Linked DNA regions of Homo sapiens: regions 1, 2 and 4 are each linked to region 3. The links are contacts of gene promoters, found by promoter capture Hi-C in blood cells and fetal thymus (Javierre and others, 2016). All regions are on one chromosome and are shown on one strand. The core of a region is centred on a gene start or on the middle of the fragment in contact, and the rest is flanking DNA. Distances in the headings are between cores, read along the strand shown.

Region 1 (3,315 bases), core at 797-3,296, 260 kb before region 3:
GGGTGACAGTGAGACTCTGTCTCAAAAAAAGAAAAAAGAAAAAAATTCCACTTGCAACAGCAGCAAAAAGAATAAAATGTTTAGGAACAAATATAACAAAAGAAGAGAAGAGCAGACTTACACTCTTAAAACTACAAAATGTTGTTGAAAGGAATTAAAGAAGATCTAAGTAAATGGAATAATATCCCATGCTCATAGATCTTATGATTGTCAAGATGACAATTCTCCCCTAATTCACCTACAGATTCAATGAAATTCTTTTTTTTTTGGTGTGTATGAGATATTGCATTATGATTAGAAATCATTTCCAGCACTTGCTTCTATGCCTGTTGCCCCATGCCCGAGGTAGGGGGCTTGGATCCAGGACAGGGTGTGGTCCTGCCCGGGGGTGGGTCCCAAACAGATGAACAGACTGGACCTCCCCTCCTTTCCAATGCCAGGGAGGCTGCTGAGGAGGACCACAAGTTCCATAATAAAATAAAGATTTTATTATGCTCACAGGGGAGGGTGGCTCATTCCTTGTGGGCAGCTGCTTTCCTCTTGGCGGCCAGGATGTTGCTCAGCTCCTCCTGCTTCCTGTTGGCACAGATGTGTGTCCCCACCCTTTTCTTGATGAACTTGAGGGCCCAGTTGTCCTTAGAAACCTCAAGCAACTCCATGGCATGCCGCTCGTTTGGGGCAAAGCCATACCCCTTTCAGGCCAGGTCTGCACAAACTCAGTGTTCTTGGTGAGGTGCCCATGGTGGTGGCGACTGAGCCTGGGCTTTCTCCTTACCCCATCATTACCTGGGCCCTTGCTGAGACCCCAGTCATGGGGTGGCACAGAGCCATGGCTACTCCTTTTCAATCTCAATGAAAGTCTTATAAGAATCCTAGCTGGTTTCTTTATAGAAATTGACAAGCTAATTGTAAAGTTTATATAGAAGTTCAATGGGTGCAGAATAGATAAAACAACCTTGTAAAAGAAGAGCAAAGTTGGAGGACTCACACTTCCTGATTTCAAAACATTATTGCAAAGCAACAGTAACTAAGACAGTGTGGTAGTAGCATAAGGATAAGCAGACAGATCAATGGAATAGAAGTGAGAGTTCAGAAATATACCCACATGTCTATGGGAAACTTATTTTGACAAGGTTGTCAAGAACATCCAGTAAGGAAACACTAGTTTCAACTAATGGCAAAGGGACACCTGGATATCCATATGCAGATGTATGAAGTTGGACCCTTACCTCAAATCATATACAAAAATTAATTCCACATTAATTGATTACCTAAATGTAAGAGCCAAAACCATAAAGCTCTTAGAAGAAAACACAGAAACTAATCTTTGTGGCCTTTGATTTAGCAGTGGATTATTAGATATGACTCCAAAAGCCTGAGCAACAAAATAAATAATAATAAACTGGAATTCAAAATTAAAAGCTTTTGTGCATCAAAAGGCATTACCAAATAAAGTGAAAAGACAACCTACAAAATGGGAGAAAATGTTGCAAATTATATACCTGGTAATGGTTTACTACCCAGAGTTTATATAGGATTCCTACAACTCGGCAACAAAAAGGCAAACAAATCAAGTAAAAATATGGGAAAAGGGCTTGAATAGCCATTTCTCCAAAGGCACACAAATGCCTGAAAGTCCATGAAAAGATGCTCAACATTATTATTCATTAGTAAAATACCAAAAACAAACAGGCAAATTAAAACCTGGGCAAAGAACTTGACTGAACATTGCCACAAAGAAATTATAATAAATGACTAACAAACATAAGAAAAGATGCTCAAAATCATTGGCCATTAAGGTAATGCAAACCAAAAACACAATGAGAGGCTGGGCGCAGTGGCTCACGCATGTAATCCCAGCACTTGGAGAGGCCGAGGCGGGCAGATCATTTCAGGTCAGGATTTCGAGACCAGCCTGGCCAACATAGAGAAACCCTGTCTTTACCAAAAATACAAAAATTAGCCAGGCCTGGTGGTGAGTGCCTGTAATCCCAGCTACTTGGGAGGCTGAGGCAGGAGAATCACTTCAACCTGGGAAGCGGAGGTTGCAGTGAACCGAGATTGCGCCATTGCACTCCAGCCTGGGCAACAGAGAGAGACCCTGTCTCAGAAAAAAAAAAAAAAGAAAATAGAAAAGCCACAATGAGATACCACTTCACACTCACTAGTATAGCACTAATCAACAACAATAAAAAAAATTGGAAACAAGTGTTGGCAAGAAGGTGGAGAAGAAGGAACCCTCATAAATTTTCGGTGGGAATGTGATATGGTACAGCCACTGTGGAAAATAATTTAGCAGTTTGTCAAAAAGTTAAATATATAATTAATTTTACCATATAATCCAATAATTGTACTCCTCATTATATACCCAAAAGAATTGGAAAGGCATATCCAAACAAAATTTTGTACCAAAATGTTCATATCAACACTATACACTATAGCTAAAACATGGAAATGATTCAAGTGTCCACTAGTGGATAAATGAATACATAAAATGTGGTATACACAGACAACGGAATATTATTTAGCCACAGAAAGTAATGACGTCTGATACATGTTACAACATAGATAAACCTTGACAACATTATGCTAAGTGAAATAAGCCAGACACAAAAAGGCAAATATTGTATGATTCCACTTATGCTGAGTATCTATAATAGGTAAGCTTAGTCAGATGGTAAGTAGATTAAAGGTTAATGGGTTCTAGAGGGAGAGGAGACAGGGAGTTATTGCATAATGGGTACAGAGTTTCTGTTTAGGATGATGAAAAGCATTGTAAATAGTAGCAATGGTTGCACAATATTGTGAATGCAATTAATACCACTGTATTTATTATACACTTAAAAATGGCCAAAATAGCAAATTTTATTTTAAACAGTAGTCTATAAGGTTTTTTCCATTATTATTATTATTATTTTTTTTTTTTACTTTTTAAACTATTTTGTTAAAAACTAAGACACAAACCACACACATTAGCCCGGGCCTACACAGAGTCAAGCTCATCAACATCGTTGTATTCCACCCCCACATCTTGTCCCACTGGAAGGTCTTCAGGGGCAATTAATAAGCATGGAGCTGTCATCTTCAGCCTCCCGAGTAGCTGGGACTACAGGCGCATGCCACCATGCCCAGTTAATTTCTTTTGTATTTTAGTAGAGACAGGGTTTCACCGTGTTGCCCAGGTTGGTCTCGAACTCCTGAGCTTGGGCAATCTGCCTGCCTCGGCCTCCCAAAGTGCTAGGATTACAGGCGTGAGCCACCACACCCAGCTGGGCAATAGAGATTTTTCTGCTCCATTATAATCTAATGGGACCA
Region 2 (3,265 bases), core at 505-3,004, 310 kb before region 3:
AGCCTTGGGCCAGGCGCAGTGGCTCACTCCTGTAATCCCCGCACTTTTGGAGGCTGAGGAGGGCAGATTACCTGAGGTCAGGAGTTCAAGACCAGCCTCACCAACATGGTGAAACCTCATCTCTACTAAAAATACAAAAACTAGCCAGGTGTGGTGATGCATGCCTATAATCCCAGCTACTTGGGAGGGTGAGGCAGGAGAATCGCTTGAACCCGGGAGATGGAGATTGCAGCGAGCAGAGATTATACCATTGCATTCCAGCCTGGGTGACAGAGTGAGACTCTGTCTCCAAAAAAAAAAAAAAAAAAAAAAGAAGTAGCCCTGGGACTTAGCGAATCAAATTTCCATTTCACCCCCAACTTGTTTCCCAATCATCCCAGCCTCCCTTCCTTAACCAGGTTTCACATACGTGGCTGGGTAGCACTCTGCATAACTGTTGGACATGCCAAAGAAATCTCCCAGCTGCTTTTTGTCTTCTGGCTTCTTCAGCATATGCTATGTTAAAGAAAACACTACACAGGATTCTACCTATTGCTGTAAAGCTTCAGCCAGGAGGGGGCCAAGGGCTAGAAGCCCCAACATGAAAATTCTGAGTGGGCTGTGAGCTGTTATGGGTGCTCTGGGAAGGAACAAGGGATGGTTTCATTCTGTCAAAATTCAGCGTAAAAGGGAAGGAGAGGGGCAGGGTAGGAGGGAGCAGGGAGGCAGGGGGGGTTGGAGTAAAGAGACCAGTTCTCTGGAACCCAGGAACGTATTAAAATAAAGGATATGATTCTGTGCCTTCCCAGCCAGCAGACCCAGCAAACTTTTCATTGATGGACTTGATCAACTCCTTGGTAGACCCAGGTCCTAGGAGAAAAGAGAACTCAGCCCAGACCTTGAACTGAGGCTCTCACAACCTCCTCCCCACAACACACTTAAAAAACATTTTTAAGGCATAGAACCCTTTTGTCTAACAAAGTTTTAAACAAACTCCAATTAATGAGTCACTCTGGTTGAGATGAGGGTAGGGTATCCAGAACATTCCATACTTGACCTCTACCTCACCTCCTCAGAACCCCAGGGCCACAGGAATTATATCTAAGAGCAAATATGCCCTGCCATGGCCCAGGAAGGTGGAGGGAACTCCACCTATTCAATAAAGCAAGACACAGTTCTTACAAGAACCCAGAACCAGGAGGTCCCCCAATCCCACCGTTGCCAGCTCTGAGCCCTACCAGGGGAAAGCAGGACTGCTAGAGCAACTGTGAGATGCTGTGTGTACAACTCACCTTTGTCAACGTCCATGGGCTGGAAAGAACACAAAATGTGAAGTTAGTGTTACCATGAGAGATTCCTACTCATCCCTCCCCCAAGTTTGAAACAATTCCTTACCCAACCTTGCTCACATTTCCAGAGAGGGGCAACTCCATCACCTGGTACTAAGGGCCCACATCTCACCTCATCATCTACTTTTGGCTTCTCAAAGTAGCTGTGTCTCTTCTTTTCCTCTTCTCTCTCTCGGTCCCGCTCTCGCTCTCGTTCCCGATCTCGTTCTCGCTCTCGCTCTCGGTCACGGTCTCTGTCTCTTTCCCGATCACGCTCCCGTTCCCGATATCTCTCCCGCTCCTTGTCCCGAGGTGTCTTGGTTGTGGAGGGTACGTAATCCCCAATGTCTTCAAAAATACTGGGAAAATGGAGATCACTAGCTGGCCAAATTCACACATACACCTTCACTCCCCCTGACCATTTCTCCAGATTCTCATGTCAGCACCTCCCCAAAATGCCAGACACAAGAAATGTACAGACCCCCTCCCTCTGATCAGATGCCAGGGGCTAGGATACATACTTCATGTCAGCCTCAGGAGGTTTCTTCTCTTCCAGCTTCCCTGAAATTTAAAGAGAGGAGTCAGGAACATACTCCTCAGTTAATTTCCACTGAACTTCACCATCCTCTCCAGCTCTTAATGCCCTTTTAAACATCTTCTGTTTAAAACGTGGGTCAAGGCTGGGTGCGGTGGCTCACGCCTGTAATCCCAGCACTTCGGGAGGCCAAGGCGGGCGGATCACTTGAGGTCAGGAGTTTGAGACCAGCCTGGCTAACATGGTGAAACCCCATCTCTACTAAAAGTACAAAAAAATTAGCCGGGTGTGATGGCAGGTGCCTGTAATCCCAGCTACTCAGGAGGCTGAGGCAAGAGAATTGCTTAAACCCAGGAGGCAGAGGTTGCAGTGAGCCGAGATGGCATCACTGCACTCCAGCCTGGGCGACAAAACGAGACTCGTCTCAAAATAAATAAATAAATAAAAATAATAAAATAAGGCCAGGAAGAGTGGCTCATGCCTGTAATCCCAGCACTTTGGGAGGCCGAGGTGGGCACATCATAAGGTCAGGAGTTCGAGGCCAGCCAGGCCAATACAGTGAAACCCCATCTCTACTGAAAATACAAAAATTAGCCAGGCGTGGTGATGCGTGCCTATAGTGCCTATAGTGCCTACTTGGGAGGCTGAGGCAGAAGAATCGCTTGACCCCGGGAGGCAGAGGTTGCAGTGAGCAGACATCGCACCACTGTACTCCAGCCTGGGTGACAGAGCGAGACTCCGTCTCAAAAAATAAATAAATAAAATAAAATAAAATGTCGGTCAAGTATTAGAGCCTTTTTAGAATCTGTCTAGGTTTTCTGGTTTTCACCAAAAAATCTCTTTTAAAAAAAATAAATAAATAGGACATAAGCTACCCACTCTCCATCCCTCATGCTTCAGACCTGACCACTGCTTCTTAGGTAGGTTAAGGAGACAGAATCTGGCTGTAACTGTCTCCTTGCCAATGCTCCAGTACTCCCATTTTTCTCTGCTTCCCAGGAGCCTCTCAATATTCTGGAGACAGAAAGCTCCAGGAGACCTTGGTTTTATCCCCAAACGTCCTCTGTGGGTAAGGCTTCTCTCTCTAACCCTCCAGGTACCTTTATCCTTCTTCTTAAGCTTCTTGTTACGGGTTCCCTGCCTCAGGTATGAAAGGATCTGGGTCAGCTTGCTAATGACAATGTCATTTGTGGTCAGTGTGGTCTGGGCCTGAAAATACCAAGAAACAAGAATGTTAAACCACTCAGCAGAAATCTCTTCATTTATTCATTCATTCACTTAACAAACTAAAGACTGAATTACAATACAGTAGGTGAAGGGAGGGAAACGAAGTGCTGTGAAAGGATATTCCAGAGATAAAACAGCCTGCACAAAAGCCCTGCATCAAAATGAATCAAGACCATTCAAGAAAGTCAGGAGTCTA
Region 3 (3,163 bases), core at 565-3,064:
CAGAGCATGTGAAGGGAGAAAGGCAGGCTGGGGCAAGAGAGCAGGGTGTGACTCTGGCGAGGGTGGGGGAAAGGGGGTGATTTGACCATGTGTCAGGAAGTGTTTCTCTCCACCCTCCCCTGGGGAGAGCCTTGACCCCAAGGTGGCTTTGTTTTGGGGAAGCAGGTGGCCAGGCAGCTGCTGAGGGAGGGCAAAGTCATGGCTTGGGCGGTGACCATGCACTGAGGTCCTAGGCCCGATACTCATCACCCAAAAGGATAATCTAACAGTGGCTCTTAGCCAAATAGGTGACAGGTGAGCTTCTGTCTGAAACCAGCCCAACTATATCATAAAGCCTCAGATATGGCCTAGGGGAAGGCAAGCGATCTAGAGAAGTGAGAGAAAAGAGGCCTCTAAGGAAATAGAGTGGTCAAGTGCTTAGTGATTATTATTAACAGCAACAATAATAATGGGTCACATTTATTGAGAGCTTATAGTGTGCCTGGCACTATACTAACTACTTTTATGTGTTCCCGCATTCATTTCTCAAAAAGCTCCCTACAAAGTAGTCATTATTATTATTGTTATTATTTTTTCCATTTGAGAGACGTCAAAACTGAGGCTCAGTGAAATTAAGTTTCTTGTCCAAGGTCACACAGTAAGTAGCAAAGGCAGGATTCAAACTCAGGTCTGTAGTGATTCCAGTGCACTATGGAAACCTAGGCCTAGGTTACTGGAGCAAGTTAAGAGGGCAGGGCCAGACTGACCCCTGCAAAGGTGGGGATAGGGAGGGACAGTGGGATAGACTGTGTATAAATAGCAGGCCTGTTTTTATCCCTACACACAGGCAGAATCCGGCAAGTGCTCTATCTGGCACAATTTCAGGGCTCTGAAAGCCAACCCAGCCCTGTGTCAAACAACTCTCTCCCCAGCACGTCCCTGGAAACTGAAATACCTACTGAGACACTCATTTCTTTGGGTCAGGACAGTGACTCCAGAAGACCCCTGCAAAAGCACATGGGTTGGAAGAGAAACACCTAGTGTCTGTGAAACAGCAATCTAGGTTAGCCAGCTGGGTCCTATGGGAGGGTGGCTCATTTTTTATGTTGAGGAAAAAGGTGGCAGTCAAAGGCAAGGAAAAGAATAAGGCTTGTTTCACAACCTGTGTCTCTCCAATCTCAGAAGCCTGGGAATTACAACCCATAGTTCAAAAATCCTAATGTCCCCTGAGGGAAGATGGGAGGAAGCCACTCCAGAGACTAAGAGAGTACTAACTTCCTTTGCTTTTGCTGGATTGATACTAAGTGCCTGCAACTTCAACTCTGGTTATCTCGGGTTTATGAGAACGGCTGGCATTCACGTGTCTAATTTTTAAATGATAGATGAATTAATTATTATTTGATACTTGCCGTGTTGGTAGGCCAAAAGGTGGGCTTCTGAAACTTAGAGGGTGACAGGGATGGAGACCCCTGGTATGGGGCTTAGATGAAGCAAGAGGCCAGGCCCGGAACAGAACTCAGCTCAGCAGTCAGTCACAAGGCTGCAGAGTGACAGGCGTTTGGGGAAAGGTAGGAACCGCTCTCCGCCACCTGCCGGTCAGTAGCCCTACCCACAATCAGGCCGCGGCTGCCTCGGCCTGGTCCCAAAAATTGTGAACGCCGCCCTCTCCTCCCGCCCAGTCCTCCGCCGCGCCCGCGGGGTCGGGGGCTGCGCTGCCGGCGCCGCGAGCCGGGCGAGCTTCCCAGCACGGGAGGAGGGAGGGGGCGGCGCCGGGCGGGGCGGAGCTTCCGCGCCTCCTGGAGCCTTATTCCCGGCCGCGAGCCGGGCAGCGCTCATTCGGCCGAAGGAGCTACGCGGGCCACGCTGCTGGCTGGCCTGACCTAGGCGCGCGGGGTCGGGCGGCCGCGCGGGCGGGCTGAGTGAGCAAGACAAGACACTCAAGAAGAGCGAGCTGCGCCTGGGTCCCGGCCAGGCTTGCACGCAGAGGCGGGCGGCAGACGGTGCCCGGCGGAATCTCCTGAGCTCCGCCGCCCAGCTCTGGTGCCAGCGCCCAGTGGCCGCCGCTTCGAAAGTGACTGGTGCCTCGCCGCCTCCTCTCGGTGCGGGACCATGAAGCTGCTGCCGTCGGTGGTGCTGAAGCTCTTTCTGGCTGCAGGTAAGAGGGCTGCCGACGCCCCCGGAGATCGGGGGGATGGGGGCGTTGTGCTGGGGGCATGGGGGAAGGTCGCCGCAGCGCACCCGGCACGGGCCACTTGGTGGGGCCCTTGCGCTCTGGCGGACGGGCGTCGGCATCGGTGCGTGTTGGTCAGGGGTCTGGGCGGGTGTCTGATGCGGCCTGGCCTCTCGCCCGCAGTTCTCTCGGCACTGGTGACTGGCGAGAGCCTGGAGCGGCTTCGGAGAGGGCTAGCTGCTGGAACCAGCAACCCGGACCCTCCCACTGTATCCACGGACCAGCTGCTACCCCTAGGAGGCGGCCGGGACCGGAAAGTCCGTGACTTGCAAGAGGCAGATCTGGACCTTTTGAGAGGTGGGTGTGGAGGCCCCCCATCCTTGGACCTTGGTGGGCTGTTGAAGAATAAGCAGATCCAAGATTCTTGCTGTTTGGGCAATACTGTGGGTTGAGGGTATTCATGGAGAACCTCGGGGAAAAGCTGATCGGCCTGATGGGCACTGGGGGATCCTGGAATATAGGTCCCACTCTCTCTCTCTTGTCATTGCCTCACCTGCTGGGTTGCTGCCCTTCTGGGTACTCCGGGGCAAATTGAATCAGACGTGTTGTCTGGGGTTGTTACGTTCTTCTTAGGTAAGCTGGGTGATAGGAACAAGGAATGGTTGAGATGCTTTCCCTAGAGCTACTATGTAAAAATGGGCGCCAGTTCTAATTCCCATATCAAATGACTATTATATATAAAATAGAGGTAACACATGCGGAGATGCCCAGGCACATCTCTAGAAAGTGTGCAGTGTTGGCCTCCTCCATCCACCTGTCTCCAGATTGGGGAAACAGAGGGGAATGAGGAGCTCTTGGCCGCCCTAGATGAGGCTGTGAATGGTGAGCACTGAGCCCCTAGGGGGCTGTATTAAAATGCTGGATATCTGTGAATGCTACCGGAAACCTGCAGCTTACTGAGCACCTTGCATTCCTGAGGAGACTCCAAATGGGGAGGGCTGTGTAGGATCCTCC
Region 4 (2,990 bases), core at 58-2,557, 390 kb before region 3:
AATTGTTCATTTTGGGGCTTTTTTATTTTTATTTTTTTGTAGAGACGAGGTCTCACTATGTCACCCAAGATGGTCTCAAACTTCTGGCCTCAAGTGATCCTCCTACCTCGGCCTCCCAAAATGCTGGGATTATAGGTGTGAGCCACTGCACCTGGCCTCCTGTTCATTTGGATTTTCACTTCTCTGTTTTATTCTTCGTGCCTTCATCTTACTTTAATATTTTCTAAAATTCTATTTTGAGTTAATACTATGTTTTTTAGTGCATCTCTTTGTATAACATGTTAGCGGTTGCTCTGTCCACAACTTATCAAAGTCTATTCATTTTTTTCCGTCTAATTTCTCTCTGTTGTTTAGGTTGGATAATTTTTATTATTCTATCTTCTAGTTCACTTGTTATTTTTTCTGCCTCCTCCATTATGCTGCTGAACCCACCCACCCCATCCACTGAGGTTTTTATTTCAGTTATTATATTTTTCAGTTCTAAAATTTCCATTTAGTTCTTCTTTTATCATCTATTTCTTTGCTTATGCATTCTATTTTTCATTTATTCCAAGAATGTTTATAATTGCTTATTGAAGCATTTTTACAATGGCTAATTTAAAATTTCTGTCAGATAATTCTAATATCTCTGTCATCACAATGTTGGCATCTGTTGATTGTCATTTTTTCATTCTGTTTGAGATCTTCTGGTATGATAAGTAACTTTTCATTAAAACCTGGATATGTTCATATTATATTCCGCTACTCTGGATCCTATTTAAACCTTCTGTTTTAGTGGGATTTCTCTGATACCATTTAGGCAGAAGGGGGAACAGAGAAAGAAGGAGATGTCACCTAATTACTGCCAGGTGCAGGCAGAAGTCCAGGTTCCCCACAGAGCCTCCATTGCCACCTGAAGAAGGGAGCTCATTGTTACTGCTGGGTAAGCATGGAAGTTCTGGCTCCCCTGACACCACAGTGAGGATGGCCACATTACCACTGGGTAGAGGTCTAAGTCCAGTCTTCTCATATAATCCCCCCTGCTGGGAAGGGAAGTATTAACAAAAGATCATGAGATTTGAGGAAGAAGAAAAAAGAGAGTTTTATTTCCTATAAATGGTTACAATCTGCAGGTTGGGAAATGAAACATCCAGCCAAAATGAAAAGCATCTGCTTCAGAGACAAAAGGGAGAAGCTGGGACTTATGCCCAACAAGATGAGCTATATGTACATATTCAGTAGCTTATAGGAGAATCTATGAATATTTGAGAAAACCCTAATGCATGCAAAGAGAATAAACATATATGTTACATATGTTCCATGTTCATTTTGGGGTGGGGATTTAATAGTAAAGTGAAGTGGCACGTGGCTGTTTATATATAACAAGGTGAAACAGAACACAAAGGCATCTTGTGCACAGCCTCTGTGGACTAGGTGCAATCAGTCTGTGGTCGGTGGTCAGTATAACAATGGAATGTTTAATAAGGCTGGTCAGTAGTCATGGTGAAACCACGATAAAAGAGGGGAGGTCAGCCATGACATCAAGAGGTCTCTTGAGGTTGAGGGAGAAATCTTCCAGACAGTTTTTTAGGAACTCGTTTCTGTTTAATTGTAGGAAGGAAAGTTTTGAGGCAGTTAACAAGGTAGGGGAGTGTTGAGGTGTGACTGACCTCTTGCCTTGCCAAAGCCATAGAATGCAGTTTTCAAAGTTTCTGGGGTCTCTTTTGCAACAAGAAGTCCATTCTGTTTCACCTAGGGGCTTAGGGACTTTAGTTTTATTTCACACTTTCCAGCTTTAGGCTGAAATCTGCCATAGGCAGCATTGATGGCTAAATTTTCTAACATGTCCCATGTCGTTCCCAGGATGGTGTGGATACCTGCCCCAGGTCTATCTAGTCTGTCAGTGGGACTCATGTGGCTAGGAGACTTACAACCAGTTGAATATTTTAGGCCAGGCAAGAAGGAGGCAGACAGCTATTAAGACCCTTTGAACCTTTGAGACTAGAAAAACAGTAACAACAGAAAAGTTGAGAAGGTAAGTTTATGTTTATGTTGTCTGTCATTTCTATGCATTGTGCTACCATAACTTTGGTTTTAGTGACAGACTTGAAGTAGTTGGTTATAGATCTTATAAGTACTTTGACTATCAAAAATAGGAACAAGATAGTGATATGATAATGACAAGGGTTTGTAAGATGGATTGGAAGTAATTTCTAATACTGCAATGAGTCAGCTAAAAACGTTATTAAGGGGATCTGTGGTTTGTACCTCCTGTAACCAGGCAGCCTGTTGGGTGATCTTACCTACATGGGTTGTTAAATCTCCTATAATGTTGATATAAGTGCAACAAGTGGTGTGGGCTATCATGCAAATTCCCCCTTGTTTAGCAATGAGAAAACCTGGTGCAATTTGATTGTCTAAAACCACTTGAGCGAGAGAATTTAAGGACTTCTACTGTGTCATAATACTTATTGCAGCATTTTCAGCAATTTGTCCTATGGTGGCCGGCATTTTTTTTTATCGTATCTCTGTTAGTGTATACTCCGTAGCTGAGAAAAATTACACCCCAAAAACTATGCTACCACATATCCTGATATCCACTTGGTAGCTCTCTTTTAGCTTACCGGAAAGCAAGATTTTCTTTATGATTGAGATGGATGGAAAAGAGGGCAACGTAATGACCTAGAAGGCAAAGTCCTTCAACTTGCCAGCTGTTTATGCATCTGTGTGCCTCTTCTTGAACTGGGGGATCTGACTCAATTCTATATAGGAAAGTGTGTCCTCAAGGGGCACAAGTTATACCTCCAAGGGTATGCCAATTTATACGTTCATTTATGAACAAGATATCTATTATGTGAGTGAACCACGAACTGGTTTTGTTGCAAGCCTTCTAGAAGCCTGCAGAGGCATGATATCTAACAAAGAGGAGCTGTTGTCAGTGTTTGATATTTTTTCTTTGGGCATTCAGTGGTTATGTACAGTAGCAAGGGTGGGAGTCCCAGAATCTAAGG

What was found. The method cuts DNA at HindIII sites, captures the fragments that hold promoters and counts their contacts. A CHiCAGO score of 5 or more calls a contact.
Region 1: a fragment that was not itself captured here is called in contact with the fragment with the promoter of HBEGF in region 3 in 1 of 17 cell types (monocytes); the score reaches 5.9 in monocytes.
Region 2: a fragment that was not itself captured here is called in contact with the fragment with the promoter of HBEGF in region 3 in 1 of 17 cell types (neutrophils); the score reaches 5.5 in neutrophils.
Region 4: a contact is called between a fragment that was not itself captured here and the fragment with the promoter of HBEGF in region 3, in 5 of 17 cell types (naive CD4 T cells, total CD8 T cells, naive B cells and 2 more). The highest score is 7.1, in naive CD4 T cells.

Annotation. Positions count from the first base shown.
Region 1 is chr5:140,606,601-140,609,915 of GRCh38, reverse strand. It overlaps a transcript of TMCO6 not described here and the pseudogene RPL36P11. Among named protein-coding and RNA genes, the nearest start is that of CD14, 25 kb to the left of the region's middle. The HindIII fragment of the contact is 1,243 bases long and covers 1,425-2,667 here.
Region 2 is chr5:140,657,340-140,660,604 of GRCh38, reverse strand. It overlaps IK (IK cytokine), which reads right to left. Exons shown (of 20, transcript NM_006083.4): 10 at 2,943-3,051; 11 at 1,829-1,868; 12 at 1,441-1,666; 13 at 1,272-1,290; 14 at 771-849; 15 at 410-490. Among named protein-coding and RNA genes, the nearest start is that of WDR55, 5.9 kb to the left of the region's middle. The HindIII fragment of the contact is 2,419 bases long and covers 545-2,963 here.
Region 3 is chr5:140,345,254-140,348,416 of GRCh38, reverse strand. It overlaps HBEGF (heparin binding EGF like growth factor), which reads left to right and starts at 1,814. Exons shown (of 6, transcript NM_001945.3): 1 at 1,814-2,134; 2 at 2,333-2,506. The coding sequence starts at 2,089. RefSeq lists silencers at 1,530-1,579, 1,620-1,899. The HindIII fragment of the contact is 6,957 bases long and covers 1-3,163 here.
Region 4 is chr5:140,735,270-140,738,259 of GRCh38, reverse strand. All of the region lies in intron 3 of LOC105378198 (a long non-coding RNA gene), which reads right to left. Among named protein-coding and RNA genes, the nearest start is that of ZMAT2, 36 kb to the right of the region's middle. The HindIII fragment of the contact is 5,793 bases long and covers 1-2,990 here.